2 separate regions of the Homo sapiens genome follow, and region 2 is linked to region 1. The links are contacts of gene promoters, found by promoter capture Hi-C in blood cells and fetal thymus (Javierre and others, 2016). All regions are on one chromosome and are shown on one strand. Each heading gives the region's core, a stretch centred on a gene start or on the middle of the fragment in contact. The rest is flanking DNA. Distances are from core to core; before and after follow the strand shown.

What was found. Contacts are between HindIII fragments. The CHiCAGO score rates a contact against its expected background, and 5 or more counts as called.
Region 2: a fragment that was not itself captured here is called in contact with the fragment with the promoter of MYCBP2-AS2 in region 1 in 3 of 17 cell types (total B cells, monocytes and naive B cells); the score reaches 8.2 in total B cells.

Annotation. Positions count from the first base shown.
Region 1 is chr13:77,079,729-77,083,840 of GRCh38, reverse strand. MYCBP2-AS2 (MYCBP2 antisense RNA 2) reads left to right here and starts at 2,651. Exons shown (of 2, transcript NR_170173.1): 1 at 2,651-2,927; 2 at 3,180-3,330. MYCBP2 (MYC binding protein 2) reads left to right here. Exons shown (of 83, transcript NM_015057.5): 63 at 649-809; 64 at 1,848-2,004; 65 at 2,190-2,414. MYCBP2-AS1 (MYCBP2 antisense RNA 1) reads right to left here. Exons shown (of 4, transcript NR_046716.1): 3 at 729-831. The HindIII fragment of the contact is 5,615 bases long and covers 2,503-4,112 here.
Region 2 is chr13:77,248,395-77,252,429 of GRCh38, reverse strand. MYCBP2 (MYC binding protein 2) reads left to right here. Exons shown (of 83, transcript NM_015057.5): 15 at 1,075-1,279. Among named protein-coding and RNA genes, the nearest start is that of MYCBP2, 77 kb to the left of the region's middle. The HindIII fragment of the contact is 5,367 bases long and covers 35-4,035 here.

The DNA.
Region 1 (4,112 bases), core at 1,402-3,901:
AGACAGGGAGACTTTTTATGGTATTTTTTTATACCTCTTGAATATTTTATTATGATGTGTGTTATCTACTCAAAATAATAAAAAGTTATTCCATAGTTAATATTATTAATGGAGCCATCTGAGGGTTGTAATGAGAAATGAAATTCAACCCCTACTTCTCTTTCCTAGCTGTGGTCCATTTGCGTAGAAAGGAGCTTTTTTTTCTAATTCACATAAAAATGCTGTATGAGTTAGTGACCACCCCAACTTCTAAACATATGTTATTTTTTATACATAAACATACACACAAAACATACCTACATATATGTATGTGTATATATCCATACACATACATATATATGCACACACACTACACATACACATGCATACACATGTGGATTCACCCTACAGGTATCTTTGTGAGTACACTAGAATTGATACATTTATTCATTTGCATGCTGATTTTGCTTGTGACTAAACTTACAGCTTTTTTCCCTAAAATAATACAAGCATAATTAGTTAAAATTACTGTATCTTTCTGGGTACAATTTGGTTTTGTTGTTTGTATTTCTGTTACATGACCATTTTTTAAGTATACATAATAGTCTTTTGTGAAGAGGATTCCTTCCAGCACACAAACTGATAAACTTGTTTCAATTTCTGCCTTAGGAGAAAGATACAAGAGTATGTGAACATCCACTCTCAGACATAGTGATTGCCGGGGAAGCTGCTCATCCTTTACCACACACCTTTCACCGCTTGCTGCAGACCATCTCAGACCTTATGATGTCTCTCCCCAGCGGCAGTTCATTACAGCAAATGGCCCTGAGGTAATTTTGGTATCCACATATCCTAGGTACATTGGACAAGAGAGTTTATGGAATATTCAAAGTATGAAATGCTCCAAAAAAAGCTCTTTAAATAGTAAGATAGAATCCCTACATTATATAGATGGTGCCTCCCTCCTTACAGTCATAATTTTTAGAATGGTCCTTCCTCTTAGTTAACATTTGTTTGCCCTCCTGTAAAATGTGGCTAATGTAATTCTTAGTGCCCTAAATTATCACTGTAGCAATCTCCCTCACTTTCCCCAGTCTCCTACCTCAAATCACTTAAATGTCCCAAAAAGAGAGAGGGAAAATGAAATCTCAAAAACAAAAACCAAAATAGAGTTTTGACTTGAAAAGAATCTTGGGGAAAACAGAGCCTGGTTGTATGCACCCAGTCCTAAAAGCACCTTAAGGAGCATCACAGATGCTCAACAGATTCCAATTTCAATTTGAAATGTGTTGAGAATTTAGCATTGCTTTTACACTGTGAACCTTGTTACTAGATTCACATACTGGACTCACACTTATAAATAAATTCTCCTAATTAATGTATACAAGAAATAGATTGATGGAATGCTTGGGCTTCCCATGTTACTAATGATAAGACCAGTGGAAGAGAGATTTCTCTTTGTCCTCCTCACAAGATTTTTGAACTACAAGATAAACTATACCCTGATGAATTAGTATGGCATTGTAAGAGTAATAAATTTGAGGGGTTGTTGCAGTTGGTGTACCACTTGTTTACACAATAGATTCATTACCCTTTTTGCTTCTGTAGCCTTGATCTTCATCTGTCTAATTCTTTTATATTTAAAATGGGTCAACTTTCCTTAGAATTTACCTTGTTCCAAAGAAGTTACCTTTATTTCTCAAAAACAAAAACAATAGGAATGATTTTCTTCCCTGAATTTTTAAAATGTCTGTTACTAGAACATTAAAATTTCTTGAGATATTAGCTACAGAGTACTCATCTAAGAGTTCCTTAGATGTTCCTGGAAAATAATTATTTCGTATATTGCTTATATATCGCCTTTTTAGGTGCTGGAGTCTCAAATTCAAGCAATCTGATCACCAGTTCCTTCATCAGAGCAACGTCTTTCATCACATTAACAATATTTTGTCAAAGTCAGATGATGGCGATAGTGAAGAGAGTTTTAGCATCAGTATACAGTCTGGCTTTGAAGCTATGAGTCAGGTCAGTCATTTCAGTTATTATCCTGGTTGTCCTGTTAGTTAATAATACATCAAAGGAGAAACTGTAAGTTATTCATAATCAATTTGATCCTGTCTTCCATTATGTTTTATCTTATACCTGTTTGTTTTATCATCACGAAAGATTTGCTTTTAAGTATCATAAGTACTTATATTTGTTTCTGATAGGAATTATGCATAGTAATGTGCTTAAAGGACTTAACCAGCATTGTTGACATAAAAACTTCAAGCCGACCTGCCATGATTGGCAGTTTGACAGACGGCTCCACAGAAACCTTTTGGGAATCAGGAGATGAAGATAAAAACAAAACTAAGAACATCACCATCAACTGTGTAAAAGGAATCAATGCCCGCTATGTGTCTGTTCACGTGGACAATTCCCGAGATCTTGGGGTAAGAAAGCAAACGTGATTTACGGCTCTTTAGCTCTTTTCAGATCTTAGTATTCATGCACTTTCATTTCTGAATTTAGCAACAAGCTTTATCACCTGGAATTTCACCAACCAAACATCATTGCTATAATCCCCAAATAAATCTTAAGTCTAAAAACAAATTAATATGATTGGGAGCACTGTGGAATTCCATTTCTGAAAAGAGGTCTGATTACAAATATACCATGGCTACAGCTAAGCAAAATGAAAGTCTGCTCTACAATTTTCTGCTGCCATTCCCTTGGTTAAGATTTTCCCGTGACCTGGAAGTCCTCCCCTTAAACTCTGCTGATCAATTCTTCCAGGGTCTCTCAAACTCAGCAGAGAAATTCTAAGTAACTCCTCTAAAAAATTACTCTTTCCCTCTGCTGATTCTTTTTGTATTACTCTGGTGGCACTTAATAATAATCTTTGACCTATAGTGTAATCAGCTTTTTTTTTTTTTTCTGAGATGGAGTCTCCCTCTGTCACCCAGGCTGGAGTGCAGTGGCACAATCTTGGCTCACTGCAACCTTCGCCTCCAGGTTCAAACGATTCTCCTGCTTCAACCTCCTGAGTAGCTGGGATTACAAGCACACGCCACCATGCTTGGCTAATTTTTGTATTTTTAGTAGAGACAGGGTTTCACCATGTTGTCCAGGCCGGTCTCAAACCCCTGGCCTCAAGTGATCTGCCCACCTCAGCCTCCCAAAGTGCTAGGATTACAGACATGAGCCACTGCACCCAGCCTATCTTCAAGTGTCTACTTTGCCACAGTCCTCATGAAATAAAAAATAAGTTTCAGACTGTCCCAAATAATCATAATTTATATTCTCTTCAGCCTAGTTCATCCATGTGTTTCAACTGAATTAAATATTCTTTTATAAAAGGCACTAAACAAGAAAAAAGAGTCCTATTTGCTTGAGTATTAACAACCAAGAAAGAAATAGCACTAACTGCCAGACTGCCTTTCTTCTACCTCATTTAGAATTTTTTTCCTCAGAATGGATGTGGCTTGCTAGCAGATACAGTATTAATGGCTCTCCTTGAACCATTGCCTGGCTTCTCCTGTGCCATTTGCATATTTCCTTTCTCAGGAAGAGCCACAGTGGTAGGATTGGGTCTCAGATAACCTGGATGCAGGCCAGTCTGCAATCAGAGCAACCTCCAACTCCTGTACATCAGTGCAGGTTCTATTCCTCCCTGGTATTGAGTAAGTAAAAGAGGCTTAGCTAATATAATATGAGCTATTTCCTCCTCAGACCTAAGAATTTCCACTGGTGTAACTACTTTATCTTACTGGAAAGTCAAGTGTAACAAAGCAAAACATTTTTGTAGCTAGAACTCACTGTTCAGTGCAAAGCTATCTTTGGCTCATGGTACATTTTAAGCAAGGACATACTCTCCCTCAGAACAATGATTGCAATCAATTTAACACTTCTGTCTTTTCTAAGAGGAAATAATCATAACAGTATTCATTTTCAAAATTCCCAACATGTAAGCTGACATCTACTTTCCTTTTAACAGGCTTCCTCTATGTTATAGGTTGAGCATTCCAAATCTGAAAATCCAAAATGCTACAGAATCTGAAACTTTTTGAACACAGATATGACACTTAAAGGAAATGCATATTGGAGCATTTCTGGTTTTAGATATTCAGATTTGGGGTGCCCAGCCAGTA
Region 2 (4,035 bases), core at 1,469-3,968, 170 kb before region 1:
ATTAATGTCTGTCTTTCTTACTACATTATAAGCTTCATAACAGCTCAGTATTACCGTCTTCAGTTTCTAGAGCAGAGGTCTGCAGAGTATAACCTGATGTCATTTTTTTATATAGCCCTCTAAGCTAAAAATTGATTTTACATTGTAAGGATTGTAAAAAATGTGACAAAGATTTGTATGGGCCACAGAGCCTAAATTATTTACTGGCTCTTTATAAAAGGTTTGCTGATTTCTTGCCGTGAAGGAATCCCTGGAGTATAGTAGGTGTTCAATTTAGAAAAAAAGATGAATGAATTGTATTGTAACACCATTTTAAAAAGTTGTTAGGTGAGGTATAAACAGGCACTGAGGAGGTAGTGACTGACTGCCTGGAAAAGGTAGCAAGTGCTTTAATAGGGAATGACTTCTGAGCTGAATTTTTGAAGGCTGAAGTTTCTCTACTAGATGAGATAGGCAGAGACATCTTGTAAATGAGGAAGGAAGAGGCAGAGGGAGCAAGAATGAACAAAGGCCCTGAGCATATGGAAGGACACAGGGTGTTTGGAGAGCAGAGGGAAAAGAAATGAGATTGGAGAAAATTAGGAGCCATCTTGTGCCTACTGCCTCTTGCTGAGTTTTGTTCTTCTGAAGACCTTGGAAGGTCACTGGAGGTTTGTAAATTATGAAGTTGTCATGTGCTTTGGGAGGGTGATTGGTGGCAGTAGGAGGATGATCTAGAGTGGGGAACTCTTGGCTTGGAGCATGGTTGGGAGGCTTTCTTTGGTCTGTTGAATGAAAGTGTTGGTAGTGAGGATGGAAAACAGGAAAAGATTTAAAAGTATGATTGACAGAAGGTAACAGCCAAGAGACATTTGACAATAGCCTTCCTTGCCTTCTTTTGCAGAAATGAAATGGGGAGAGTGTTTATTAGTGGTCCCTAAATTAAAATTTATTTTTGTTACTCAAATTTAAGCATTTCTTTGTATAATTGCTTGGATTAGCATGCTGTCATTTTTTAAACTGGGAAATATAGTCATCCATCTTTTATACATGAAAGTAACCTGTATAAAAATTACAAATTGATCTGTCAAATAGGGTTTGGAGTTGAAAATATGGCAACAGCAATGGATGAAGACCTGGAAGAAGAACTAGATGAAAAAGATGAGAAGTCTATGATGTGCCCTCCAGGCATGCACAAATGGAAGCTGGAGCAGTGCATGGTTTGCACTGTCTGTGGAGACTGTACAGGTTATGGAGCCAGCTGTGTCAGTAGTGGACGGCCAGACAGAGTCCCCGGAGGGTAAGAGACAATGATTCCTACTAAAGAACATGTGCAGAACACATTTCTTTGCAAAATCATTCCGGAGTATACTCTACTATTAATATTTTTTTCTTAAAGACCAGTGGCATCTTCACTTGATCTTAGCCAAAAGGCCAAGAAAGTATTATAATTCTTATAATTGTTTTCTGTTATAATAATTTATAATTTAATGTCATCTCTAAGGTTGCCTTTCTTTCATTTGATTCATTTAAACCATTATTTAAAAACAGACCATAAGTTTTTCAAGACTTGGGGCTGTACTTTTATTTGTATTATTTTTCAAAGCCTATTTAATGCTAGATATCTATTATATTTCTTTCTGTTGAACATGAATCTTTTCTAAATAAAATTATCGATATCATAAAGAGTACTTGATTAGATATATAGTTTTGTTTTAAATTAAATGTACCATTTATAAATTTAGAAACGTTGTATGCTTGCTTCTAAAGTTACATCATACCTGCTATATTTATCCTTGTTCTCAATGGACCACATTTTTCAGGGTTCTATATTATTGTCAATTTACAGTTAATATGTAAGTTTGGCAGAATAAGAATGCAGGTTTTCTGCTAGGATGTTAGGAAGAATTTTGAATCTATTTTCTACATTGCTAGTTATAGCCACTATAACATGATGGGATATTCTTTGTGTGATCAGCTTTGTAATAATTGGCTGATTTGGGGGAGTAGAGAAAATTTTGTGAAGAGAAGCCCAGAAGGAAGACAGCCATCCCTGCCTCTTGACCTTCCTCTTTGTCAACTCTGTAATAGTTGCTTCTTCCCAAATATTGTCTGGATCTAATAGGAGTTTATTTCTAAGTTTATATTTGGCCTTTCATAGTTAAATAGGTCATATATAACAGGCCTTTTCTTTAAGGCTGCTGAGATATGATTTTTTTTTTTTTTTTGAGACGGAGTCTCGCTCTGTCGCCCAGGCTGGAGTGCAGTGGCGGGATCTCGGCTCACTGCAAGCTCCGCCTCCCGGGTTCACGCCATTCTCCTGCCTCGACCTCCCAAGTAGCTGGGACTACAGGCGCCCGCCACTACGCCCGGCTAATTTTTTGTATTTTTAGTAGAGACGGGGTTTCACCGTTTTAGCCGGGATGGTCTCGATCTCCTGACCTCGTGATCCGCCCGCCTCGGCCTCCCAAAGTGCTGGGATTACAGGCGTGAGCCACCGCGCCCGGCCATGAACTTTTAAAAACAAATTTTCTTTACATTATTAGTATAAGCAATAAAGTCGTCTTTATCAAAGGATAATATTTATTCTGTAGTGCTTTATGTTTGGCTCTGTTTTCTGTTTTTTAAGCACCTAACTTCTTTATTTTTAAATTTAATTTGGATGCAGAAAGACTCTGATTATTTTTTAACAATGTTGGAATTGAAATTTATTCTCCTGGATCTCTCCAACGCTATTTCCATTAAAATTCAGTGTTAGCTGGGTGTAGTGGCCCATGTCTGTAATCCCAGCACTTTGGGAGGCTGAGGCCAGAGGATCACTTGAGGCCAGGAGTTTGAAACCAGCTTCAGCAGCATAGCAACACCCCTAACTCAAAAAATATATAATAAAAATAAAATTTAATATCCCCACTCTCTGAGCTTAAGCAGCCAGTATATATCGTGAACAAAATCTATAAATTATCTGGTCCCTTTTGAAATTAATTATTCTTCGTTTTTTCCTCCAGAGACTTACATAATTTATAATAATTATTCATAGACTTACATGGACAATACTAACCAAGTATAATAATTGCTTTATGAATGAAGCAAACTGAATATATCAGAATATTAAGGACTATTAAGCTGACTTCAATTATTATAAAATTGTGACTACATATCTTATTATGATAAAGTACATATAAAATTGACCAGCTTAACCATTTTTAAGTAGACAGTTCTGTGGTATTAAATCCATTCATAATGTTGTGCAACTATTACCACCATGCATCTCCATAACTTTTCATCTTGTAAAACTGAGACTCTGTAACTGTTAAACAATGACTCCTCATTCTTCCCTCTCCCCTGCCTCTGGCATCCACTATTCTTGTTTTCTTTCTGTGTCTGATTGACTACTCTAGGTACCTCTCATATAAAGAGAATCAGAGTATTTGTCTTTTTTGTGACTGGCTTATTTCACTTAGCATAATATCCTCAGTTCATCCAGGTTGTCACATATGTCGGAACATCTTTGCTTTTTGAGGCTGAATAATATTCTATTGTATGTATATTACCACATTTTGCTTATCCATTCACTCACTGATGAACACTTTGGTTGCTTCCACATTGTAACTATTGTGAGTAATGCGCTGTGAAGATGAGTGTACAAGGAGCTCTTTGAGACCCTGTTTTCAGTTCTTTTGGGCATATACCCAGAAGTGGAATTGTTGGACTATATGGTAATTTTATTTTTAATCTTTTGAGGAACTGCCATACTATTTTTCACAGCGGCCAACCATTTTACATTCCCACCAATAGTGTACAGATGTTCCAGTTTCTCCACATCCTTCTTAACACTTATGATCTGTTATTTTGGTAGTGGCATCCTAATGGGTGTGAGATAGTATCTCATTATAGTTTTGATTTGAATTTCTCCAGTGATTAGTGATGTTCAGCATCTTTCCATATACTTTTTGGCCATTTGTAGATCTTTGGAGAAATGCTATTCAAGTCCTTTGCTCACTTTTGAATCAGGTTGTCAGTTTCTTTTGTTGTTGTTGATGAGTTTTAGGAATTCTC